Linked DNA regions of Homo sapiens: region 1 is linked to region 2. Evidence: promoter capture Hi-C in human tissues and cell types (Jung and others, 2019). All regions are on one chromosome and are shown on one strand. The core of a region is centred on a gene start or on the middle of the fragment in contact, and the rest is flanking DNA. Distances in the headings are between cores, read along the strand shown. Region 1 has its middle 46 kb from the start of DAGLA. Region 2 holds the start of BEST1 (bestrophin 1).

Region 1 (5,404 bases), core at 902-3,401, 320 kb before region 2:
GAATTTTCTCCTAGACAGGCTCTCTCTCAAAGTCTGCTAGTCAGATCCGGTAGTAACTCCACACCCCACATTATTATTAATTTTCATGACCTACATTTATATCATGTTTTAGATGCTGCTACTCAAAGCGTGGTCTCGCATTCCTTGGAGCTGATTAGAAATGCAGGGTCTCGGGCCACCCCCACGGTTGAATCTGAATCAGCGCATTAAGAAATTCCTCGGGGAATTCATGTGCGCGGTGCAGTGCAGCGTGGGAGCACAGCTTCAGGGTTTACAGAGTGGCATCTGGCGGGAGTTGGGGGAGGGAAGCCTGACCCCAGAGCCCGGCAGGAGAGGTAGCTGAGAGGCTGGGAGGCAGCCCAGGCTGATGTGAGCCTGGTTTTGTCTCTCTCATCCCACTGCCACAGTTCCCATTAAATGAAGCTGTCCCCATGGACCTGTCAATGGCCTCTTGGTGGCTTAGTCCCTGGACCTCACTCAATAAGCAGCCCTCCCAGGCCTCAGCCACCAATTCCCAGGGCCACCTGGCTATTGTGCTTGGCTTTCTTATTCCATGGCTTGTCCTGACACAGACCCTTCTGGCAGGGCACTTGCTCTCATGACGTCCCAGCAATCCCATCCGTTTGCACTTGTTGTAACGGCTTATTGGGCACTTACTAAGTGCCAGGGACTGAGAAAAGGACTCCACAGGCACCAGGCCATTTGGTCCTCACAAAACCCCATGAGGATGCTGCAGGGATTATCTGCATTTGGCAGACAAGGAAACCAAGGCTCAGAAAAGTGAAATAACTTGTACAAGCTACCATAATTAATAAGTGCTCAAGGTGGGATTTGAACTCTTGTCGGTCTGCCGGGCCTGAGTTCTTAACTAGAATGCCTCCATTTTTGCTGTGTTTTTATGGAGAACACTGAAGTTCAGTTTTGCAACCTGCGCAAGGTCATATGGCTGTTAAGTGCTGGGCCTGGGACTTGAACTCAGGGTGTTGTATTCCCAAACCTCAAATTCTTAACTGCTGGACTGGTTTCTTTATCCCAGGGGTCCCCAGCTCCCAGGTTGCAGACTGGTACTGGTCTGTGGCCTGTAAGGAACTGAGCCACACGGCATGGGGTGAGCGGAGGGCAAGCGAGAGAAGCTTCATCTGTATTTACAGCCTCTCCCCATCACTCTCATTACTGCTTGAGTGCCGCCTCCTGTTAGATCAGCAGCAGCATTAGATTCTCATAGGGGCACGAACCCTACTGTGAACTGCGCATGTAAGGGATCTAGATTATGCACTTTTTTTTTTTTTTTTTTTTTGAGATGGAGTTTCGCTCCTGTTGCCCAGGCTGGAGTGCAATGGTGCGTTCTTGGCTCACCACAACCTCCGTTTCTTGGGTTCAAGTAATTCTCCTGCCTCAGCCTCCCGAGAAGCTGGGATTACAGGCACTCACCACCACGTCTGGCTAATTTTGTGTTTTTTTTAGTAGAGATGGTGTTTCTCTATGTTGGTCAGGCTGGTCTCAAACTCCTGACCTCAGGTGATCCACCCACCTCAGCCTCCCAAAGTGCTGAGATTACAGGCGTGAGCCATCGCTCCTGGCCTTATGCACTCCTTATACAGGTCCCTGATGCCAAAAAGTTTGGGGAACGCTGCTTTACCCCATGTTACAGATTTGGGAGCTGAGACAGAGATGCTGAGCAAGTCAGCCTGGGTGTGTGAGGGTCTCCTAGTGCTATTCTGTCCACTCCAATTCCAGCTGCCTGGGCTCACTCTGGCATCAACCATCTCTGTCTGGGCTACCTCAGCAATAACCAGCATTGGGGGCTGAGTACCCCCACCCTGTGGGAGGCTGAGGCAGGATGATCCTTTGAGTCTAGGAGTTCAAGATCAGTATGGGCAACGTAGCAAGACCTCGTCTCTACAAAAAATACAAAAATTAGCCAGGCGTAGTGATGCGTACCTGTGGTCCCAGCTACTTGGGAGGCTGAGGTGGGAGGACGGCCTGAGTCTGGGTGGTTGAGGCTGCAGTAAGCCGTGATGGTGCTACTGCACTGCGCGACAGAATGAGACCCTGTCTCAATAAATAAATAAATGAAACCAGCTTTGATGAACCAGAGTTCCTGGAGCCACACCTGTAGCATAGAATGCTCAGGAGCAGGCCAGGCACAGTGGCTCACGCCTGTAATCCCAACACTTTGGGAGGCTGAGGCAGGCAGATCATGAGGTTAGGAGTTCGAGACCTGCCTGGCCAATATAGTGAAACCCCATCTCTACTAAAAATACAAAAATTAGCCAGGCATGGTGGCATGTGCCTGTAGTCCCAGCTACTCGGGAGGCTGAGGCAGGAGAATCACTTGAACTCAGGAGGCAGAGGTGGCAGTGAGCCGAAGATTGTGCCACTACACTCCGGCCTGGGTGACAGAGCGAGAATCCACCTCAAAAAAAAAAAAAAAAAAAAAAAAAAAAAAAAAGAATGCTTGGGAGCTCAGCACAGTGGGGAGAAATGGAGACTGACACCTCTTGGCCCCACGGCTCCGTGCCCCATGTAGGAAGCCAATTGCACACCTGGGCACAGGAAGTGGTGAAGTGCAGCAACTGCTGGCAGATCAGGAGGTGGTGGAAATGGGAACTGACAGTGTGGGTGGAGCTTCTCACCCCCCTAGGCACTGCCAGGTGCCCACCACAGCTGGGATGGTGGCTAGGGCAGGATGAGGGCTGCAGAGCCCCTGGGGTGGCCCTTGGCCAGCTGGGCAGGGAGGGGAGGGTCTGTGGGCTCCTCACTAGCTCTGCAACTGCAGGGGAGTTAACCTCCCCAGACTTCATGCCTCATCTATAATGTGCCCCATCTATAATTTTTTTTTTGAGGCAGAGTCTTGCTCTGTTGCCCAGGCTATAGTGCAGTGGTACAATCTCGGCTCACTGCAACCTCCGCCTCCTGGGTTCAAGTGATTCTCCTGCCTCAGCCTCCCGAGTAGCTGGGATTACAGGTACCCGCCACCACGCCCAGCTAATTTTTGTATTTTTAATAGAGACAGGGTTTCCCCATGTTGGCCAGGGCTGGTCTTGAATTCCTGACCTCAGGTGATCCACCTGCCTCAGCCTCCCAAAGTGCTGTGATCACAGGCATGAGCCATGGTGCCTGGCTTACAATGGCTTCTGGTACTGCTGAAAGCCTCCAGAGAGTCACATATCTAAAGTGCCTAGCACCCAGTTCACATTATCACCTGGGCTGGCCAAATCTAAGAGAGGCAATTTACACCGGGCTTCTGTGAGGGACAGGTGAATTATACAGTATATAGGAAAAATATGCAGTGCTGGCTATACAGCAAGCTGTATGTCAGTAACAGGTATTATTATTATTAGGAACAGGGACAGCTACATACTTTGCAGAGCCCAGTGCAAAATGAACATGTGGGGCCCTTGCTCACACATCATGAAGAATTTCAAGGTGTTGACAGCAGAGCATTAAATCAAGCTCTAGCCCTTTGGAGTGTAGGGCCCTCTGCAGCTGCAAAGGCTGCACAACCATGAAGCTGGCTGGGACTGTGACACAGGACACCAGAATCTTTATAATGGGCTCAGCTCTCTGTCCTTGGGAGGGTTGCCTCTCTGTTCAATGCTGGCGATGAGTGAGGCTTTGGGTTCCATACCTCCCCTGGTCTCCAGATTATTCTAGGAGAACCCCTTGTTACCTAGGAACTCCTAATAGCTGCTGCTTGGCCCAGCCCCAGATTCATGTCTGGAATAAGAGAACAGGATCCTTGAGTGTGAGGGCAGAAGACCCTTTGAGATCATCCCCTTCCCACCCCAAAATGGTGAGGACCTGCCAAGGACATGTGGGACCCAGTGATGAGGCAGAACAAAGATCCAGCCTCTGACTCCCAGCCTGGGAGCCCCATCTGGAAGAAGCAGCTTAGGCCTGATGAGGACGCCGGGGCTCCATGGCAGGAGGAGGGTGTGCTGGGGAGGAGGGGTGTGGGGAGGACAGTGCCACACCTGTCAGCCTGGGCTGTCCCTGGAGGAGGGGAGGGAGGAGTTTTTGTTCTCTTGGCTTCTCTGTGCTTTTTTGCAGTGGCACAAATTGCTTTTGTAATAACAGGAAAAAACGATCAACGAACCTTCATTTAAGAAAAAGCACAGCGTTCTCATGGGAACCAAGAAGACAAGCCCTTAATGCAAAGTGTATTCAGAGAGAAGAAAACAAGAAAAGCAGAGACGATTGGATTACAGCAATTGCTCTTATAACTCCTCTCCGCCCACCCCCTCGATGAGAAGCTGGTTTGAAGGACTGAGTATCAAATCCCTACTGAGCTCTGAGGTTCCAGGTGTGGATGGAGTGTGGGGCCCATGTGTGTGTCAGTGTGTGTGGGTGTGATTGTGTGAGCAACTGGGTGTGTGAGGTTCAGGCCCAGTCGGCTTGTCCAGACGCCAGGCCTGAGATGCCCTGGGGGTGCTAAGAGGGGTAGAGAGAAGCCAAAGGAACACAGGCTTTGAAACGAGGCAGAATTGAGTTGGAGTCCCAACCCCACCAACCTCACCTCTCTTCACTCTTCAGGCAGCGTAGAAAACAATGCCTGCCTTTTGCCAGGCATCCTCATGGAAGTGACATCGTCTTTAAACCTGTGTGGCAATCCCTGACGCACCACCGTGATGCCCAGGGAAGACAGGGTGACCTGGAAACCCAACTACTTCCTTAAGATCATCCAGCTATTGGATGATTATCTGAAATGTTTCATCGTGGGAGCAGACAATGTGAACTCCAAGCAGATGCAGCAGATCCGCATGTCCCTCTGCGGCAAGGCCGTGGTGCTGATGGGCAAGAACGCCATGACGCGCAAGGCCATCCGAGGGCACCTGGAAAACAGCCCAGCTCTGGAGAAACTGCTGCCTCGCATCTGGGAGAATGTGGGCTTTGTGTTCACCAAGGAGGACCTCACTGAGATCAGGGACCTGCTGCTGGCCAATAAGGTGCCAGCTGCCACCCGTGCTGGTGCCATTACCCCATGTGAAGTCACTGTGCCAGCCCAGAATACTGGTCTGGACCCCGAGAAGACCTCCTTTTTCCAGGCTTTAGGTATCATCACTAAAATCTCCAGGGGCGCCATTGAAATCCTGAGTGATGCGCAGCTGATCAAGACGGGAGACAAAGTGGGAGCCAGTGAAGCCACGCTGCTGACCATGCTCAACATCTCCCCCTTCTCCTCTGGGCTGGTCATCCAGCAGGTGTTCGACAACGGCAGCATCTACAACCCTGAAGTGCTTGACATCACAGAGGAAACTCTGTATTCTCGCTTCCTGGAGGGTGTCCGCAATGTTGCCGGTGTCTGTCCGCAGATCCACTACCCAACTGTTGCATCAGTGCCCCATTCTATCATCGACGGGTACAAACGAGTCCTGGCCTTGTCTGTGGAGACTGATGACAA
Region 2 (5,241 bases), core at 2,741-5,240:
ATTCTAGATGAGAAGGCCATAGCATTCTGTGTCTGGCACCCCCGCGCATCTCCCCAGCTCTGCCCTGCTGCCCCAAGAGATGGCTCTCTGCTGGGGAGCTCGAGAGCTTGGAATCTGCTGCAGTCAAAGTTTCTTCCATGCGGCCAGGCACAGTGGCTCATGCCTGCAATCCTAGCACTTTGGGAGGCCGAGGCGGGTGAATTACTTGAGGTCAGGAGTTCAAGACCAACCTGGCCAACATGGTGAAACCCCATCTCTACTAAAAATACAATACTTAGCCGGAAATCACTTGAACCCAGGAGGCAGATGTTGCAGTGAGCCAAGATCATGCCACTGCACTCCAGCCTGGGTAACAAAGCGAGACTCCGTCTCAAAAAAAAAAAAAAAGTATCTTTCATGCAGGCCCCATCCTTTGGACCTCCCTTCAACCCCAAGAGAGACCACTACCCTAGCAGGTAAGACTCTACCTCTCAGAAACTGACCTTTACTGTAGAGCTGATAGTGGGAAAGGGCTCAGGATCCAAAATCAAAAGACCTAGATCCTAGTCTCAAGCCATTTATAGCTGTGTGACCTTGGACAAGGCAGGCCTTGAGCTTCAGTGTCCTCCTTTGTAAAATGTGGATAAACATGCGATACTGAATCATCCTTCAGGAATAGCTCTATGACTTTCCGTAGGTTGTTCCCCTGATGTGTAATGCTCTTCCATTCTTCTCAGCTCCATGAACTCCTACTCATGCTTCAAGACCCAACCGAAATGCCCCATTGTCTGTAAAAATTTCCCTGACCTCTGTGCACTTGGCACAGATCTTAGGCCTTGCCATTCTGTGTTAGAGTTGTTATTTAAGTGTTTCCAAATTTTTTGACTATGAATACGTACAGGCAGGAATCAGATTAGGCTCAGTTCTGGAAGGAGAAATGGTTTGGCGAATATTTTCTTTGCGGAACGGAAAGCAGAAGAGGGCGACCTTGACTGGGTTGGGTGCCATCTCTGCAGGGGTCAATCCTGGGACTCTTGTTCCAGGCATGGCTTGGGTCAATCAGCACTCATGACTTTGCTGTGTGCCTGAGCCGTGCCTGGCTAACTGGGGACATTTTCATAGCTGAGACCCAGTAGGAGAGACCATGACTTGTGCCAGGGTGTGCCTGTCTCAGCTCTGGGGCAGGGCCAGGAGCAGCTGCTCATGGGATGTCTCTGGGGACATGCTGGGGCCTCTGGGAGGGGAAGGGAGACTGGCCATGCACTGTCTATGGTCCTGGTGGTACTCCTGGGATATTGCCAAGGAGCCTGCGGTTCAGGGAACAGGGAGGAGGGACTCTAGTGTCTCCAACTCCCTCTCATGGCTCTATGGCTGCTGGTCGGGGTCAGGGAGATGAAGCAGTGCCAGCTCCGTGGTCTGCACTGATCCTGACCAGTGAACCAGGCTTCCCCAGCCAGAGCCAGCTAGTCAAGCACGCTCTCTAGTGGCCACCACAGGGAAGGCAAGAACTTGTCTCCACAAAGGCAGGATTTTCATTTATTCCTTCAGAGAGTACAGAATGAGCATCAATGTTCCAGGCATGGTGCCAGGCATGTGTGTTAACTTTAGTTAAAACATACTTATTGGCCGAGTGTGGCGGCTCACTCCTGTAATCCCACCACTTTGGGAGGCCTAGGTGGGAGGACTGCTTGAACTTAGAGCTCAATACCAGCCTGGGTAATGTAGTGAGACCCTATCTCTATAAAAAAAAAAAAAATAGCTGGGTGTGGTGGTGTGCGTCTGTAGTCCCAGCGACTTGGGAGGCTGAGATGGGAGGATTGCTTGAGCCTGGGAAGTGGAGGTTGCAATGAGCCAAAATCACACCCATTGCACTCCAGCCTGGGTGACCTTGTCTCAAAAATATAGTTATATATTTACTTATATATTTATATGTATAAATATATGTGTACATACAAATATATTTGTAATATTATAGACATATTAATACATATTTACATATGTTAATATATAAATATATATAATATATATTTATCATCTTCTAAATGGAAAGCTCTTGAGTTTCAGGATGTGTTGGTTGGGAAGGGAATACAGGATAGGGAAATAATCCATTAAGCAATGACTCAGCACAGGCCATAAAATCAGAATCACCTGGAGAACTTGAACAATCCCAACACCTGGGGTCCATCCAGACCAATCAAATCAGAATTCGTAGGGGTCAGGCACAGGCACCAGTGGTTTGGAGAGTTGACGGACACATGTCCCATCCATCATTCTCATTCGGCTGCCAAGGTAGGCATCGTTGTCCCATTTTGCATATGAGGAGACTGAGGCTGAAGTGAACCTGCTTCTTTCCCCATATCAGTTGAGGACAGCGATGGGGCAGCGGGGAGGCAGTAAATACTCCTACAAGGCTGCCTCTAAAGAGAGTCTTATAATAACAACAGCTTTATTGTTTGCCATGATTAGAAAAGTATTCAAGGTCATTGCGAAATAGTGTTTTTTTTTCTAGGCAGATAATTATATAAAGGCAAAAATGGTGTGTGGGGGTGGGGGACAAGGGGAGGGAGAGCATTAGGACAAATACCTAATGCACGCAAGGCTTAAAACCTAGATGATGGGTTGACAGGTGCAGCAAACCACCATGGCACACGTATACCTATGTAACAAACCTGCACATCATGTATACCTATGTAACAAACCTGTACATTCTGCACACGTATCCCAGAACTTAAAGTGAAAAAAAAAGTGGTGTGTAGAAAAATCACCTGCAATCTCAGCATAGTTAACGCTTAGTACATTTCAGAGAGAGAGGGTGACAGGAAAGGGAGGATGAGAGTGGGTTTAAGACACAAGGTCATATTATAAAATCAGGGCTTCTGGAAGTTTAGTCCCAAAACCACACATCTCATAATCCCCTGCAGTGCTTGATTAAAATGCAACATCCCTAAGGCCACAGACTCAGACTCTGGAGAAAGATCCAGAAAACTGCCCGTTTAATAAACATTTGGGCGATTCTTACGGCCTCTAAAGACCAAGAACCACTGCTGCCTAGAGCTCTGCTCTCTTCATTGAACAATACAAGAGGAGTGTGTAGGTAGACACCCACCACTTCCAACAGCTTAGGAGAGCCCTTGAGTATGGATTGATGTATTAAAATTTATTGAATCACATGCTGAGATTTTCACCAGCTGCCCGTGGGGATCTGGGCATTTATTCCCATATTGCACTGGCTGGCTGGAAGCCAGCAGCATAAACTCCAGGGCTGTTCTGTCAACCCCCACCAGACTCACCCCCCTCCACCAGCCCCGGCAGGCTTCTCCTTCCATCTCTCTGAAGCAACTTACTGATGGGCCCTGCCAGCCAATCACAGCCAGAATAACGTATGATGTCACCAGCAGCCAATCAGAGCTCCTCGTCAGCATATGCAGAATTCTGTCATTTTACTAGGGTGATGAAATTCCCAAGCAACACCATCCTTTTCAGATAAGGGCACTGAGGCTGAGAGAGGAGCTGAAACCTACCCGGGGTCACCACACACAGGTGGCAAGGCTGGGACCAGAAACCAGGACTGTTGACTGCAGCCCGGTATTCATTCTTTCCATAGCCCACAGGGCTGTCAAAGACCCCAGGGCCTAGTCAGAGGCTCCTCCTTCCTGGAGAGTTCCTGGCACAGAAGTTGAAGCTCAGCACAGCCCCCTAACCCCCAACTCTCTCTGCAAGGCCTCAGGGGTCAGAACACTGGTGGAGCAGATCCTTTAGCCTCTGGATTTTAGGGCCATGGTAGAGGGGGTGTTGCCCTAAATTCCAGCCCTGGTCTCAGCCCAACACCCTCCAAGAAGAAATTAGAGGGGCCATGGCCAGGCTGTGCTAGCCGTTGCTTCTGAGCAGATTACAAGAAGGGACTAAGACAAGGACTCCTTTGTGGAGGTCCTGGCTTAGGGAGTCAAGTGACGGCGGCTCAGCACTCACGTGGGCAGTGCCAGCCTCTAAGAGTGGGCAGGGGCACTGGCCACAGAGTCCCAGGGAGTCCCACCAGCCTAGTCGCCAGACCTTCTGTGGGATCATCGGACCCACCTGGAACCCCACCTGTGAGTACAAGGTGCCCCAGGTGGACTGGGCTGGGGCTTTGAGGCCTTCAGGGTTGGATGGCCATCTTGCGTATTTGTGTGGGATATGCACACACAGGCAGCACATGCGCAGGTGTGTGGGCACCTGTGTGTCTGTGCAAATGCCCTGAGGTGGGAATGAGCTTGGTGTGCATCAGGCACAGCCAGCCAGTGTGGCTGCAGCAAAACACACAGGGAAAGAATGGAGGGGGCATCAATCACTGCTTCAGTAAATTTTTATTGAGCGCCTTCTACGAGAACACAAGAGGAGCTTCCATTCTGAGGAGGAAACAGGCAGGAAACAGGCAGATATCCTGTATAATTTCAAGTAGTGATAAGTGCTCTCTAGAAATATCAAGCAAGGTGAGGAGACACAGAGCACCGGTGGCAGTGGGGCTCTATTTCCAGGTTGGATGGTTGGGAACATCCTTTCTAAAGGGAACCTGGAGTGGGAAGGAACCATGCAGGTATCTCAGGAAGAGCTTCCTCCAGGCAGGAAGATCAGCAGGTGGAAAGGCCCTGGAGCCACCATTCAGTAAACATCATTTGAGCATCTCTACCAGCTAGGTTCCATTATGGGAATGGGAATATGGTGGTGGACAGGGCTGCCTGGTCCCTTCCATACTTCTCACACTAGGGTGGTTGAGAGAGCTTGGGAGCTAACGAACAAGATGGGCTGAGAACACTGCCTAGCCCAGAGGACCTGAGCTTAGTGTGTAGACATTGCTGCTGTTACTGCCTTTGTCATTGTATTATTTATTTATTTATTTATTTATTTTTAGACAGAGTTTTGCTCTTCTTACCCAGGCTGGAGTGCAATGGCGTGATCTCAGCTCACTGCAACCTCCACCTCCTGGGTTCAAGCGATTCTCCTGCCTCAGCCTCCTGAGTAGCTGGGATTACAGGCACCCGCACCACGCCTGGATAATTTTTTTGTATTTTTAGTAGAGACAGGGTTTCACCATGTTGGCCAGGCTGGTCTCGAACTCCTGACCTTAGGTGATCCACCTGCCTCGACTTCCCAAAGTGCTGGGATTATAGGCATGAGCCACTGCGCCCAGTGATTATAGAAAGTTAAAGGCACATGGCAATGCACACGCCTATCTACGTCTTCCCTGCCAAAGCAAAGGGCAGCCTCTGGGCTCACTTTCTTGCG

The links. Contacts are between HindIII fragments. The study calls those that stand out against the background at their distance.
Region 1: a contact is called between a fragment that was not itself captured here and the fragment with the promoter of BEST1 in region 2, in 1 of the 25 tissues and cell types used here (liver).

Annotation. Positions count from the first base shown.
Region 1 is chr11:61,632,049-61,637,452 of GRCh38, forward strand. It overlaps the pseudogene RPLP0P2. Among named protein-coding and RNA genes, the nearest start is that of DAGLA, 46 kb to the right of the region's middle. The HindIII fragment of the contact is 4,659 bases long and covers 1-4,481 here.
Region 2 is chr11:61,946,361-61,951,601 of GRCh38, forward strand. It overlaps BEST1 (bestrophin 1), which reads left to right and starts at 3,991. Exons shown (of 11, transcript NM_004183.4): 1 at 3,991-4,067. The HindIII fragment of the contact is 11,891 bases long and covers 1-5,241 here.